2 separate regions of the Homo sapiens genome follow, and region 1 is linked to region 2. The links are contacts of gene promoters, found by promoter capture Hi-C in blood cells and fetal thymus (Javierre and others, 2016). All regions are on one chromosome and are shown on one strand. Each heading gives the region's core, a stretch centred on a gene start or on the middle of the fragment in contact. The rest is flanking DNA. Distances are from core to core; before and after follow the strand shown.

Evidence for each region. The method cuts DNA at HindIII sites, captures the fragments that hold promoters and counts their contacts. A CHiCAGO score of 5 or more calls a contact.
Region 1: a contact is called between a fragment that was not itself captured here and the fragment with the promoter of HEY2 in region 2, in 2 of 17 cell types (erythroblasts and megakaryocytes). The highest score is 6.0, in erythroblasts.

Annotation. Positions count from the first base shown.
Region 1 is chr6:125,487,785-125,493,226 of GRCh38, reverse strand. No RefSeq gene overlaps it. Among named protein-coding and RNA genes, the nearest start is that of LINC02523, 180 kb to the left of the region's middle. The HindIII fragment of the contact is 264 bases long and covers 1,429-1,692 here.
Region 2 is chr6:125,747,770-125,752,884 of GRCh38, reverse strand. HEY2 (hes related family bHLH transcription factor with YRPW motif 2) reads right to left here and starts at 3,253. Exons shown (of 5, transcript NM_012259.3): 1 at 3,026-3,253; 2 at 1,006-1,084; 3 at 795-878. The coding sequence starts at 3,108. It overlaps HEY2-AS1 (HEY2 antisense RNA 1), which reads left to right and starts at 3,460. Exons shown (of 5, transcript NR_183491.1): 1 at 3,460-3,926. RefSeq lists silencers at 3,035-3,744, 4,919-5,098. The HindIII fragment of the contact is 5,509 bases long and covers 1,787-5,115 here.

The sequences.
Region 1 (5,442 bases), core at 311-2,810, 260 kb after region 2:
TTATCTTGCACATGTTTTTCACCTCTTGCTTCTGCCTTGGGCCTGTGTTGGAGAGGGGTACTTATGTATATCAGGAGGTTCACAACATTTCTTTAATATTTTTTGCCTTTGGGATATCTGTGATTTTATACTGTAGTTGCGTAAGATGTCACGTTTTTAGCTGGACGGATGAAATGTGCTGAAACTGCTTGGATTCTATGTGGTTACCTTAGAACATGAGGTGTTTTGAAAAAGGTAGGAGATGTTTGAAAGAAGAACAAGTGGAGAGGCAGGGGGTGGTGTATAGGTTTGGGTGTTTGAAAGTCCAGATTATCTGGGACCACTATAATTCCTTTGCTATTTGAAGCTGGGCTGCTTGGCATGGTATAAATGCTGGGTTTAGAAGTGAGAGAACAGGATCCTGATTCCAGATCTATTTCTCACTGGCTGTGGGACGTTGAACAGATCATTTTAAGTTCTCTGAGTATCAATTTCCTTTAAGAACTTTTCTTTAGTTCCAATCCTAGAACTATATAATCTTGCTTGAAAAATATAGTTAATAATGCTGAGTAATGTTCAGATAATTCTGAACAAAAAGAAAGAAAAATATTGCTTGCTTTCTATTCTGTAGTCTCACATAGGATAACTATTCTTACACAACACTTCGAATTCTTTCATTATCGTTAAAAAAATTAAAATTGTGAATGGCCTGGAGGGCAAAAGAATATGTTTACTAATGACTGCTTTTAGGTGCCTTTGCATTTGAAGTTCATGCAAAAAGCAAAAAAGTGCCTTTATAGGCCTATTTAGCAGTCACTCCAAAGTGCTGAGTATGCACTTTATAGCCCTGTGATTTTTATCAGCCATATGATCCGAGTTGACAATAGCAGATTTAGCAAACTTGGTGTTTCACAGAGGTGTGGGCAGCATTCTAGATTCTGGTCTCCCATAGGCTAACTGACCCCTTCCTTTTTGGATTTTATGTACAGTTTCTCTATTAACAGTAAGCCAATATTCTGAGAAAGCCCGTAAAACAAAAAGTCCAGGACGTGACTTGGACAGATTGCTGACTGCATTTCTCAGGCTGGATTTTATGAACTCCTCCACGTATGACAGTGTTTTGTTTTGTTTTTAATGTATTCAGTGGTAGAGGAATACTGAACCAAACCATTGTGGTGAGGCTCACAAAGATTTAATAGAGTCCTCAGAAGGTCACAGAGAGGGATTCATCATGTGACAAAGACTGAGAGTCAAATTCTGTATATTCTAAATAGGATGCAGTTGTTAAAAATTGAGTTTATTGAGGCAAAAATGCTTGTGTTTATTAGCAGGTCACGCGGTCAGATGAAAAGCTATCTCAGGTGGACTACTGTTATGATGAAGTATGAGAGGAAAGGAAAATCATCATTGGGATGAATAGTATCAAACATCACCACACCCCTACAAGCTTCGCCAGAGACCCAATTCCTGGGAGCTTAAAAATCTAGAGGAGTTTTAAAATAACTTCTTTCAGAAACCAATAATCCATTCAGTCAAGAAATGTAATGGGTTCACTTTCTGCCTGAATATTGTTGGAGTCTACAAAGATCGTCAGAGTCACAATATTTCTTTTTCAAATTTTCAACCAACCACCCTGTTTGCGGAAGACAAGGTTTAGTATTTTGCTGGAGTATTTTTATGTAGCATAAACTTGAAACTTACTTTTAAGAAGCTTGAAATTTATCTGGAGAGAAAGCCTACATTTAAAAAACAACCTTTGCTATTCTTTGAGTATATACTGTTTGCCAGCACTACCAAATAGTATGGAAACAAGTGCAAATGTGGGGCAGACTGAACCCATGAGCTTTCATAAAGACACAGAATAAAGAAATGGGGTTTGTTAATAATGATGTTTTGGAAAATGAATTTTGAATATCTTTTATTCATCAGAATGAACATCAAATATTGCAAGGAACATAGAAGATTAATATATAGCAGTGAATATATTTATGCCACTTTCTACCACTGAACCTCACCCTCTTCAGAAAGTGTCCTTTGTCCTCCATAAACACACTGTCCTTCCATCCCTCTGCTTTTGCCCCTCTTCTGTGCTTAGAGTCGCTGCCTGGAAATCTGGACTAAATGGTAAACTGGTCTTAGTGTGGATTTGATTTTTGTCCTTTTCATTCAAAGGAATGGCACTTTGTGGATAAAGGGATTTATTTTCTGAGTCACTTGCTTCCAGACTAGACCATGGCCACTTCCTTCTCAATGGCCATGTTCTTCCAACTCAGACTCTGGTGACCACGTGATGGAGGAAGCCAGCACCCTCCCACCAGCACCAGGTAATCTCACCCTTTGGAATCTGCTGCAGCTTTCTGCGTGTCTCCTCTATCTCTGCCAGGCTGCTGAGGCCCTGATAAGGGGGTCCTTATCTGATCCCTGGAGTCCGTAGTGAATCTCTTGCCTTCATTCTGATTCCCTTCATTTTGCCTGCACCTCTCTCCTCAGCATTCGCCTCATCTTGTTCTCCTGACCAGACAGTGCAATTTCACCTAAGCCATTCCCAGGCTTCATCCAGCAGTCTCTGTACCGGGAATGGTCCTTTCCTTATTTTTTCTTCTTCCTAGAACCTCCCTGCTCTGTGTAAAAGTTGCTCTTTTTTTAATTTTTTTATTTTTTGAGACGGAGTCTCTCTCTGTTGCCCAAGCTGGAGTGCAGTGGCACAATCTCGGCTCACTGCAACCTCCACTTCCCAGGTTCTAGCAATTCTCCTGCCTCAGCCTCCTGAGTAGCTGAGATTACAGGCCCACGCGGCCATGAGCGGCTAATTTTTTGTATTTTAGTAGAGATAGGGTTTCACCGTGTTGCCCAGGCTAGTCTCGAACTCCTGAGCTCAGGCAATCCATCTGCCTCAGCCTCCCAAAGTTCTAGGATTGCAGGTGTGAGCCACTGTGTCCGGCCTGATCTTCTTTTTTAACAGTGCCTCTGACACTGAAAACCTCAGAGAAGATGTTAAATTTAGCAGTCATTTGTGTGCTTGCTGGTATATTTATTATTCTGTGCACTTTCCTCTTGTACAGTGAGGTGTGTGGTTATGATCTCTGCATTGTTATGTGCCCATATTGAATTTTTGATTTTCAACTTCTAGGGAGTAGGAGCTCTGTCTACTTGACTTCCTGTTAAAATGTTTTTAGCTACACTGTGTGTATTTGGGCAATTGACTCTTTTGGCTATTAGAACCAATGTAACATAATTTAAGGAAAAATAAGATGATATTAATTTTTGGACCGCTTTTATGAAGTTCATTTATTTTTCTTTCTGTATTTTGGCTAGCATGTGTGATTTTTATGGTAGAGTCATACAAATTCTAAATAATTAAATAGAATAGTCTGAAGTGATGAAAATGTTAGATTACATTCATTTTTAAATGAAAACAGTTGTATCACTTTCAAGCATGTATAGTGCTATGACTCATTTACAAAGTATTAACAATATTTCTTCAAGGAGGCTTATAATATTAACATAACAGTCAGGAGGCCATATATTATATTGAGCACAGAAAGACCTTGATGTGGATCCCAGTATTGCCACGTGAAAACTTTATGGCCCTGGACAAGTCCTTCATCTCCCAGGTTGTGCATGTCTTCTTCCAAATCAGTACTGAGGATTCTGTGAGAAAATGTAAACAAAGCACTTAACCTATATGTACTGAGCAGATGATAAGTATATCAGCCCATTATCACACTGCTATAAATAACTACCTGAGACTGGGTAATTTATGAAGAAAACAGGTTTAATTGACTCACTGTTCTGCAGGCTGAACGGGAAGCATGGCTGGGAGGCCTCAGGAAACTTACAATCATGATGGAAAGCAAAGGAGAAGCAAGCACATATTCACATGGTGACAGGAGAGAGAAAGCGCGAAGGGGGAAATGCCACACACTTTTAAACCATCAGATCTCATAAGAACTCACTATCATGAGAACAACAAGGGGGAGTCCTGCCCCCTGTGATCCAATCACCTCCCAGCAGGTCCCTCCCCCAAATTAGGAATTAAAATTCAACATGAGATTTGAATAGGGACACAGAGCCAAACCATAACAATAAGCATTAGTAAAACTTACTGAGTATTAATATTTTAACTTGTCTTTTTGAAAAGATGCTTCAAAAGCAATTAATTTCTGTTTATAATTGTAATGACATTTGTAATTTACTCAGCATCTCTTTTTTCACAGTTTTTGTGTCTGGATCATCCATACATTCTCTTTAAGAGACTTAAATTAATGTTGGGTAGGTGTAATAAGGAAAGTAACACTTTTTCTCTGCTGCTTCCTCAGCCACGTATCTCCTATAGTCTTTTGTCTGACATAAGCAGAGAACTGTAGAGGCAGCAAGTAGTAGTAGTAGATTTTATACCCTCTCCCTTGCATGGCCTGAGTATGGGGCAGAAATGGGTGGCGGTCTTTAGTAGCATGCAGAATCCAGGTAATCCTGCCTTGGAATTCCTCTTTCCTCTCCCATTCCAAGTTAATCCACAAACTTGGCCTTGGAATTCTTGTAAAAGCAGGAGTGATGACACTGTAGAGACTCCTCCCTTGATACAAGTAAGAGATGTGGCTTGGAATCCATTTTCAGGCAGAGACAAGCAGTGAAGAAATGCAAATGAGAACTTTATCAAAGAAGAAACAAGGCCACCATGCCCAGTGTATTACTATTTTTGACAATGTTTCTGACATATTTAAAATTTTTCAATGATCTTTAGGATATGTGAACATTTTCCTTTTCATTTCTTTGAAATATTGTACTATACATTCACCTGGTATTTGCCAAACCAGTTATTCTAACATGAAGACCTTCTTAATGTCCTTTCTCTCCCTCAAGTATACATGTGGCTTTAAGTGAGAACTTAAATTTCCCTTTATTTTTGTCTTTATTAATTTTTTTTTTTTTTTGAGATGGAGTCTCACTCTGTCACCCAGGCCGGAGTGCAGCGGTGCGATCTCAGCTCACTGTAAGCTCCGCCTCCCGGGTTCACGCCATTCTCCTGCCTCAGCCTCCCGAATAGCTGGGACTACAGGCGCCCGCCACCGCGCCTGGCTAATTTTTTGTATTTTTAGTAGAGACGGGGTTTCACCATGTTGGCCAGGATGGCCTCGATCTCCTGACCTCGTGATCCGCCTGCCTCGGCCCTCCAAAGTGCTGGGATTACAGGCGTGAACCACCACCCCCGGCTTTTGTCTTTATTAATAATAAAACCTTTTCTAAATACAAATTCCTTGAAATGAATTTAGGCAATGAAGTAGATGAGTTGCATTGAATAGCTTCTAGAATAAAAAAAATTCTGATAGAGTAAACTTCTAAAATATTTCTTCATCTTTCATATTCATTTTACTTAGGGTATAGACAAACATGTAAAAGTTTTTCATTCAAGTTTGGCTCAGTGTCAGTGAAAATAGACAACAGTAAAGTACTATTAGGCAA
Region 2 (5,115 bases), core at 2,004-4,503:
TATTGGAATTAAACTGAAAGTATTTTCAACAAGGACATGCTGCCATATCCTTTGAAAGATACTCTTAGAAATCTGTGTCATTAACCACTGCGGCAGGGGGAGAGCCATGACTTCTAAAACCACAAAAGATTTAAACATTTGGCTTTCTACTTTTCTAAGTGTGCAAAATCTTTTTCTTTCTTTCTTTTTTTGTAAAGGAATAGGTAACTATGAAAAGGGGCATTTATGATTAACTTCATTTTTACCAAACTTCTAAAAAGATGACCCAAATCAAATGGCATTCTACCAACCCAGGGATTAAAAATGAAAGCAAATGGCTTGGTAAATAAATTTTAGTGGTATTATCATTTAGGAAATAGAGCTAGAGATGTTACTTCTTGGGCTCTGATTGTTTTTTAATTAAAAATATTACATTTTAAAAAAATTTTGAGAAAAAAATGGTTTTTTTTTTTTTTTTGAAGGATACGGTATACAGCACAGTTTTAAATAAAACCACTACTGGTATTCATAGAAAGAACAGAGAAAGCATGAACACTGTTACCCTTAAGGGGAAAATAAGCTAAAGAATGGAAATGTTTTTCAACTTCATGATGGATTATGTTTTTAATAGTTTTGCCACAACAAAGCATTTTATTGAAATAGCTGCTCTGTGCCAGATCAGGGCACATACACTATTATTTTAATGAGCTTTAACAAGAACCCACATTCCCAGATGAGCGAATCAGATTGTGTTTGAGCTTTTTTTTGGGGGGTGGCGGGGTGGGTGGGGGGATTCTGGGGAGGGGATAGCTTACTTGTTTTTCAAAAGCAGTTGGCACAAGTCTTCTCAACTCAGATAAACTGTTATTTATCCGATCCCGACGCCTTTTCTCTATAATCTATCCAAAAGAAGCAAACAACAAAAGTTTATGAATTCACAAATGATAAAATTACTCAAATGAAAAAATGTAACTGTTACACAATAGTATAAGTTACATGAAATAAAAAGGGGGAAAAATCACATACCCCTCTCCTTTTCTTTCTTGCCATAATCTGAGATGTTGTTGTTGGAGAATTCAATCTAATCACAGAGCTAGTACTTTGCCTATGAAATAAGAAGAGTATGTCAGGTGCTGCATTAACATAACAATAGTTTCTTCTGGGTACTTGTGGCACCCATTAAATATTCAGAGTGATTGCACAGTTCAAGTCTGTGTTATTTTATTCTTAGTTCTTGTTTCACTCTTAACGGACTTTGCTTTCAGCCCGGCTGTCTCTTTTCAGGTAAAAATTACGCCTTAATTTGTAATCCAGATGCTAACCCATTGGCCAAAATGTCCCACAATTTTTACTTGAAAGTCTCCCAGTGAAATAATTACCGGCAGTTGGGCTGAGAAGTTAGATATTAGCATTTCCTAGTTCCACTCATATATTTTAAAGTCAACTAATCTCAAATAGCTTTCCTTCTCCCTCCTGTCAGGCACACTGAACAAAATAATGCCACTTTTTCAAATCAGGGTTATGTTAAGCACCACTATCAAACAGATGTGCAGTCGTCATACGTCAAACTCTTGTCTCTAGGTGCAAACTTTAAAATAAATAGAAGTTATCTTACTGTTTCAAAACTTCAGTTAGTCATATATTGCAACAGGAAAAAATTGACAAACTTGATGTTTTGCATACTAATCTTCCAAAAATATGCCCTAAATATGCCACTGATAGGAAAATTAAAACTCATTTTATTACTAGGTGAATGTTTTACTTTGAAAATGAAACTGTAGGTGTGTCTCAGACTTTAGGCTAAGCTTAAATCTCCAGAAGCTGCAATGCACCTTGGATTTACTAATGAAAATATATTTTTATATTGAAGGTTCAATCAAAGTATTATTTGGTCACATAATTTTTACAATCCTTTCTAGTTTGTATCTGTTTCTCTTCATAATTCATGGATACTATGCTTCTTTGTGTTCTCAAATTCCCCAGGTTCCTGTTATTTGTTCTCTTTCATTTTAGAAATGCTGCACACACCAGGTTGCTATTACCTCACCTTCTCACTTCTGGATCTTATTTCTGAATTACCTGTCCCCCTCATTTTCACCCCTTCTTTACGGGTTTCACCTTTCACGTGATAGCTTCTGTTTTTCAGACCTCATTTTTAAAGACGGCACAACAACACTTTAATGATCAGATACTTAAACCTTTGCTTTCGTGTAAATATCTTTGCTCTTGCAGATTTTGTGCTTTGCTTTGTATGTATTAGAATAACAATATGAAAGAAAACCAGTTTTCCAAAGGTAGGAAGAATTTCCCTCTTTGAGTGACAGCTGCAGATAAATAATTAAGGTGCTTCTGGGGATGCCAATTAGAAGCAATTATCATTTGACCCGCCTTGGCTCTAAAATGCCTCGGTAATCTCCCTCTGTCACAGGAAAGTGGAGGTCTGGCTTCTGTGATTACGACGCCGATCTCTTCCAGACTTGAGAACAAGCAGTCAAAGAAATGATGCCCTTTCCGATGCTTACATCTGTCACTCACTCTTGCGTTAGCCAAGTCACACACGGTCAACCTGCAAAGTTCAACCTACGTAGCCTTGACATCGCAGGTTGCTTTAATTCCTCCAAAAATCAAGTTGTGATTTTGGTATCTCTAAAAATCAAAAATCAAATTGTTTTTATTTTCTCCTGATCTATTTTGAAAGTGCCCCCAAATACGGTTTCAGTGGCTGGGACATCGCCTGTCGCCCAGACGCTGCCGTTCGCGCGTCCAACTGTGACAGCCAGGACCCTCCCTCGCCAACTCCTGCGCTCTGCCTTTCAGTGGCGTCTCCCATCCTGGCTACTCCACCCCTACGGTGAAAATCCACATCCCTTGCCCCATCCCAACTCACGCTCTGCGAGCGCCCACCACTCAAACTTTCTCAGGCCAAACTTTCCCTCTCTACCTAGATGCTGCGGAGACCAGCCTCGGGATTTCCAGGGAGCCACGCATTCACAAAGCTACCCCAAGCTCCCGAGCTGCGGGCCGCTCCCGCGGAGCCCGCGCTCACCCCGAGTAATTGTTCTCGCTCCCCACGTCGATGGTCTCGTCCATGTCGCTCTCGGAGGTCGTCTCCTCGCAGGGGCGCTTCATCCCGGCGAAGACCGCGCGGGGCACAGCCCGGCCGGAAGCTCGGACGCCGAGCGGGGCGCAGCACCCTGACGCCCGCCTCCTCCCTCCCCGGGCCTGGGCAGGCGCGGCTCCGGCGGCGGCGCGGTCTGCTCCTAGCGGCTCTTTCCCACGCCGCAACTCTGCTCGGCCGCAAGAGCCGGCGCCGGCCACGCCCCCCCCTCGAGCGGGTGGGGCCACCTCACCCGCCCCCGCGCACCGGCCCAGGCCTTCCGCCCGGCACCTCCCCCTCGCTGGTCGGCGTGGCTCGCGATTGGCTGGGCCAGGGGGCGGGGCCGCGCTCGCCAATGCCCGCCGCAAGGCTCCAGCCGAGGCGTGGGAACGCGGCCGCGGACCTGGTACCCCAGAGCAGCGAGCGGGTGGGGAGCAGCCGGGGCGAGAATGAGCGCAATCTTGCTAACCCCTGCGGAGGGAGCGCGCGGGCGCCAACGCGGGCGCGCGGGGGCGGGCCCTGGACCTGGACCTTGGGTTTCGGCCCTCCTCCGCGCCCCGCGGTCTCGCGGGCGAAGTTTCAGTCCTGAGTGTAAAGAATAACCCCAAGCGCGTGGCTAAGTGCGAGCAGGCGCGTGTGACGTCGGGAGGCGCCGCGGCTCCTCGGCCGCCCCACTCGGTGGTCCCCTGTCTGGATCCAAACTGCTGACTGGCTGACCCGAGTGGTCACATTTGCCCTCTGGGGCTTTTGAAAACCTTAAATCAAAATTGCTTTTGAATCTGACAACTCCTGAGGCTACTTTCGCGGCCTCGGGGCTGTTTCATATAAGGACGCGAGTTTTCCTGATCAGGTCTGTCGGCCACGTTACGATTTCCAATTTGCGATCCATCAGTTACTTCCATTGGGTCTTCAGCCCCCAGGGACTGTGGATCCTAGACCCCGCGGAGAAGCCCGTGGACTGGAGCTGTGTCAGCTCTGATGGTAGGAAAGACTAGATCAATGACGCGGGCATTTCAGGACATAATCGTATATTTTCAAGTTCGAGTTTTTCGGGCTTGGATTATCCAGATAATTGCCTCCAGTCTCCTCCAGTCCCCCTGGTGTATGCACTCGCAGCCGCAGAGTTAGAGTCCGGGAGGTGAAGATTGGCGCTTGGAAATTAGATTTGGTTTCTAAAGTATGAATTCGTGTCCAACAGTTCGTGCCTTGGACAACGTGGGTTGTATAAAACTCAAGCTGTGTGTTTAAAACAGGTTTTCTAGCTGCTGGTTCTCTCCAAGTTATGTAGGACTTTTGAACTGGCCACCCCGCTGTGCGTCTGCGAGGGCAGGGACTGAGCGAGACCCAGCCAGGGGCGCCGGGAGACTGGCGGCGGCTGGGTTGGGGTCCAGCCGGAAACCACACGTTGGCAGGGCCGCTTGGTCAGTAGTGGAGAGAGCCTCTGAGAAAGGGCCGTCTATCGATCCCCAGACCCCTCCGTCACGGAGGGATTCATAGCTTCCTGGGGATCGGCCCAGGGCGTCCCTTTGACACTCCGTTCTCTGTCCACACAAGCCCGGCGCGGGGCGGGGAGAAGAGGAAAGGACGCGACTGGGAAAGACGGGACCCTGGCGGGGTTTGGCCCGGGGGAGAGCGGGAAGGAGCCCGGTCGGCGCGGAGGACCTGCGGCCAGCGTGCTAAGCCCTTATTAGAACAGAAACCCCTTTCCCCCCACACTCTCATCTCTTTTGCGCGGTCCCCACCGCCATGCCTTCAATAACCTTGTGAATAGAAACCCGAATCGTTCCATCTTGGCTTCTGAAACTTAACCCCAGGCAAAGCACACACTCGGCGGGGCCAGGTGGGGCTGGATGGGGTCCGCGCCCGACGGCGGGGCCGCGGGGGTCGGTGAACCCCAGCTCCCCTGTCGGCCTCAGGGCGGATGGCTGGGTCGGCGCGGGGTTCGGGGCCTCCGATCGGCTGCACGAGGGCGGGCCAGGACCCAGACCCCGTCCCCGCTCCGGCCCCGCAATCCAGCGGGTGACGAGCCTGACGCGCGC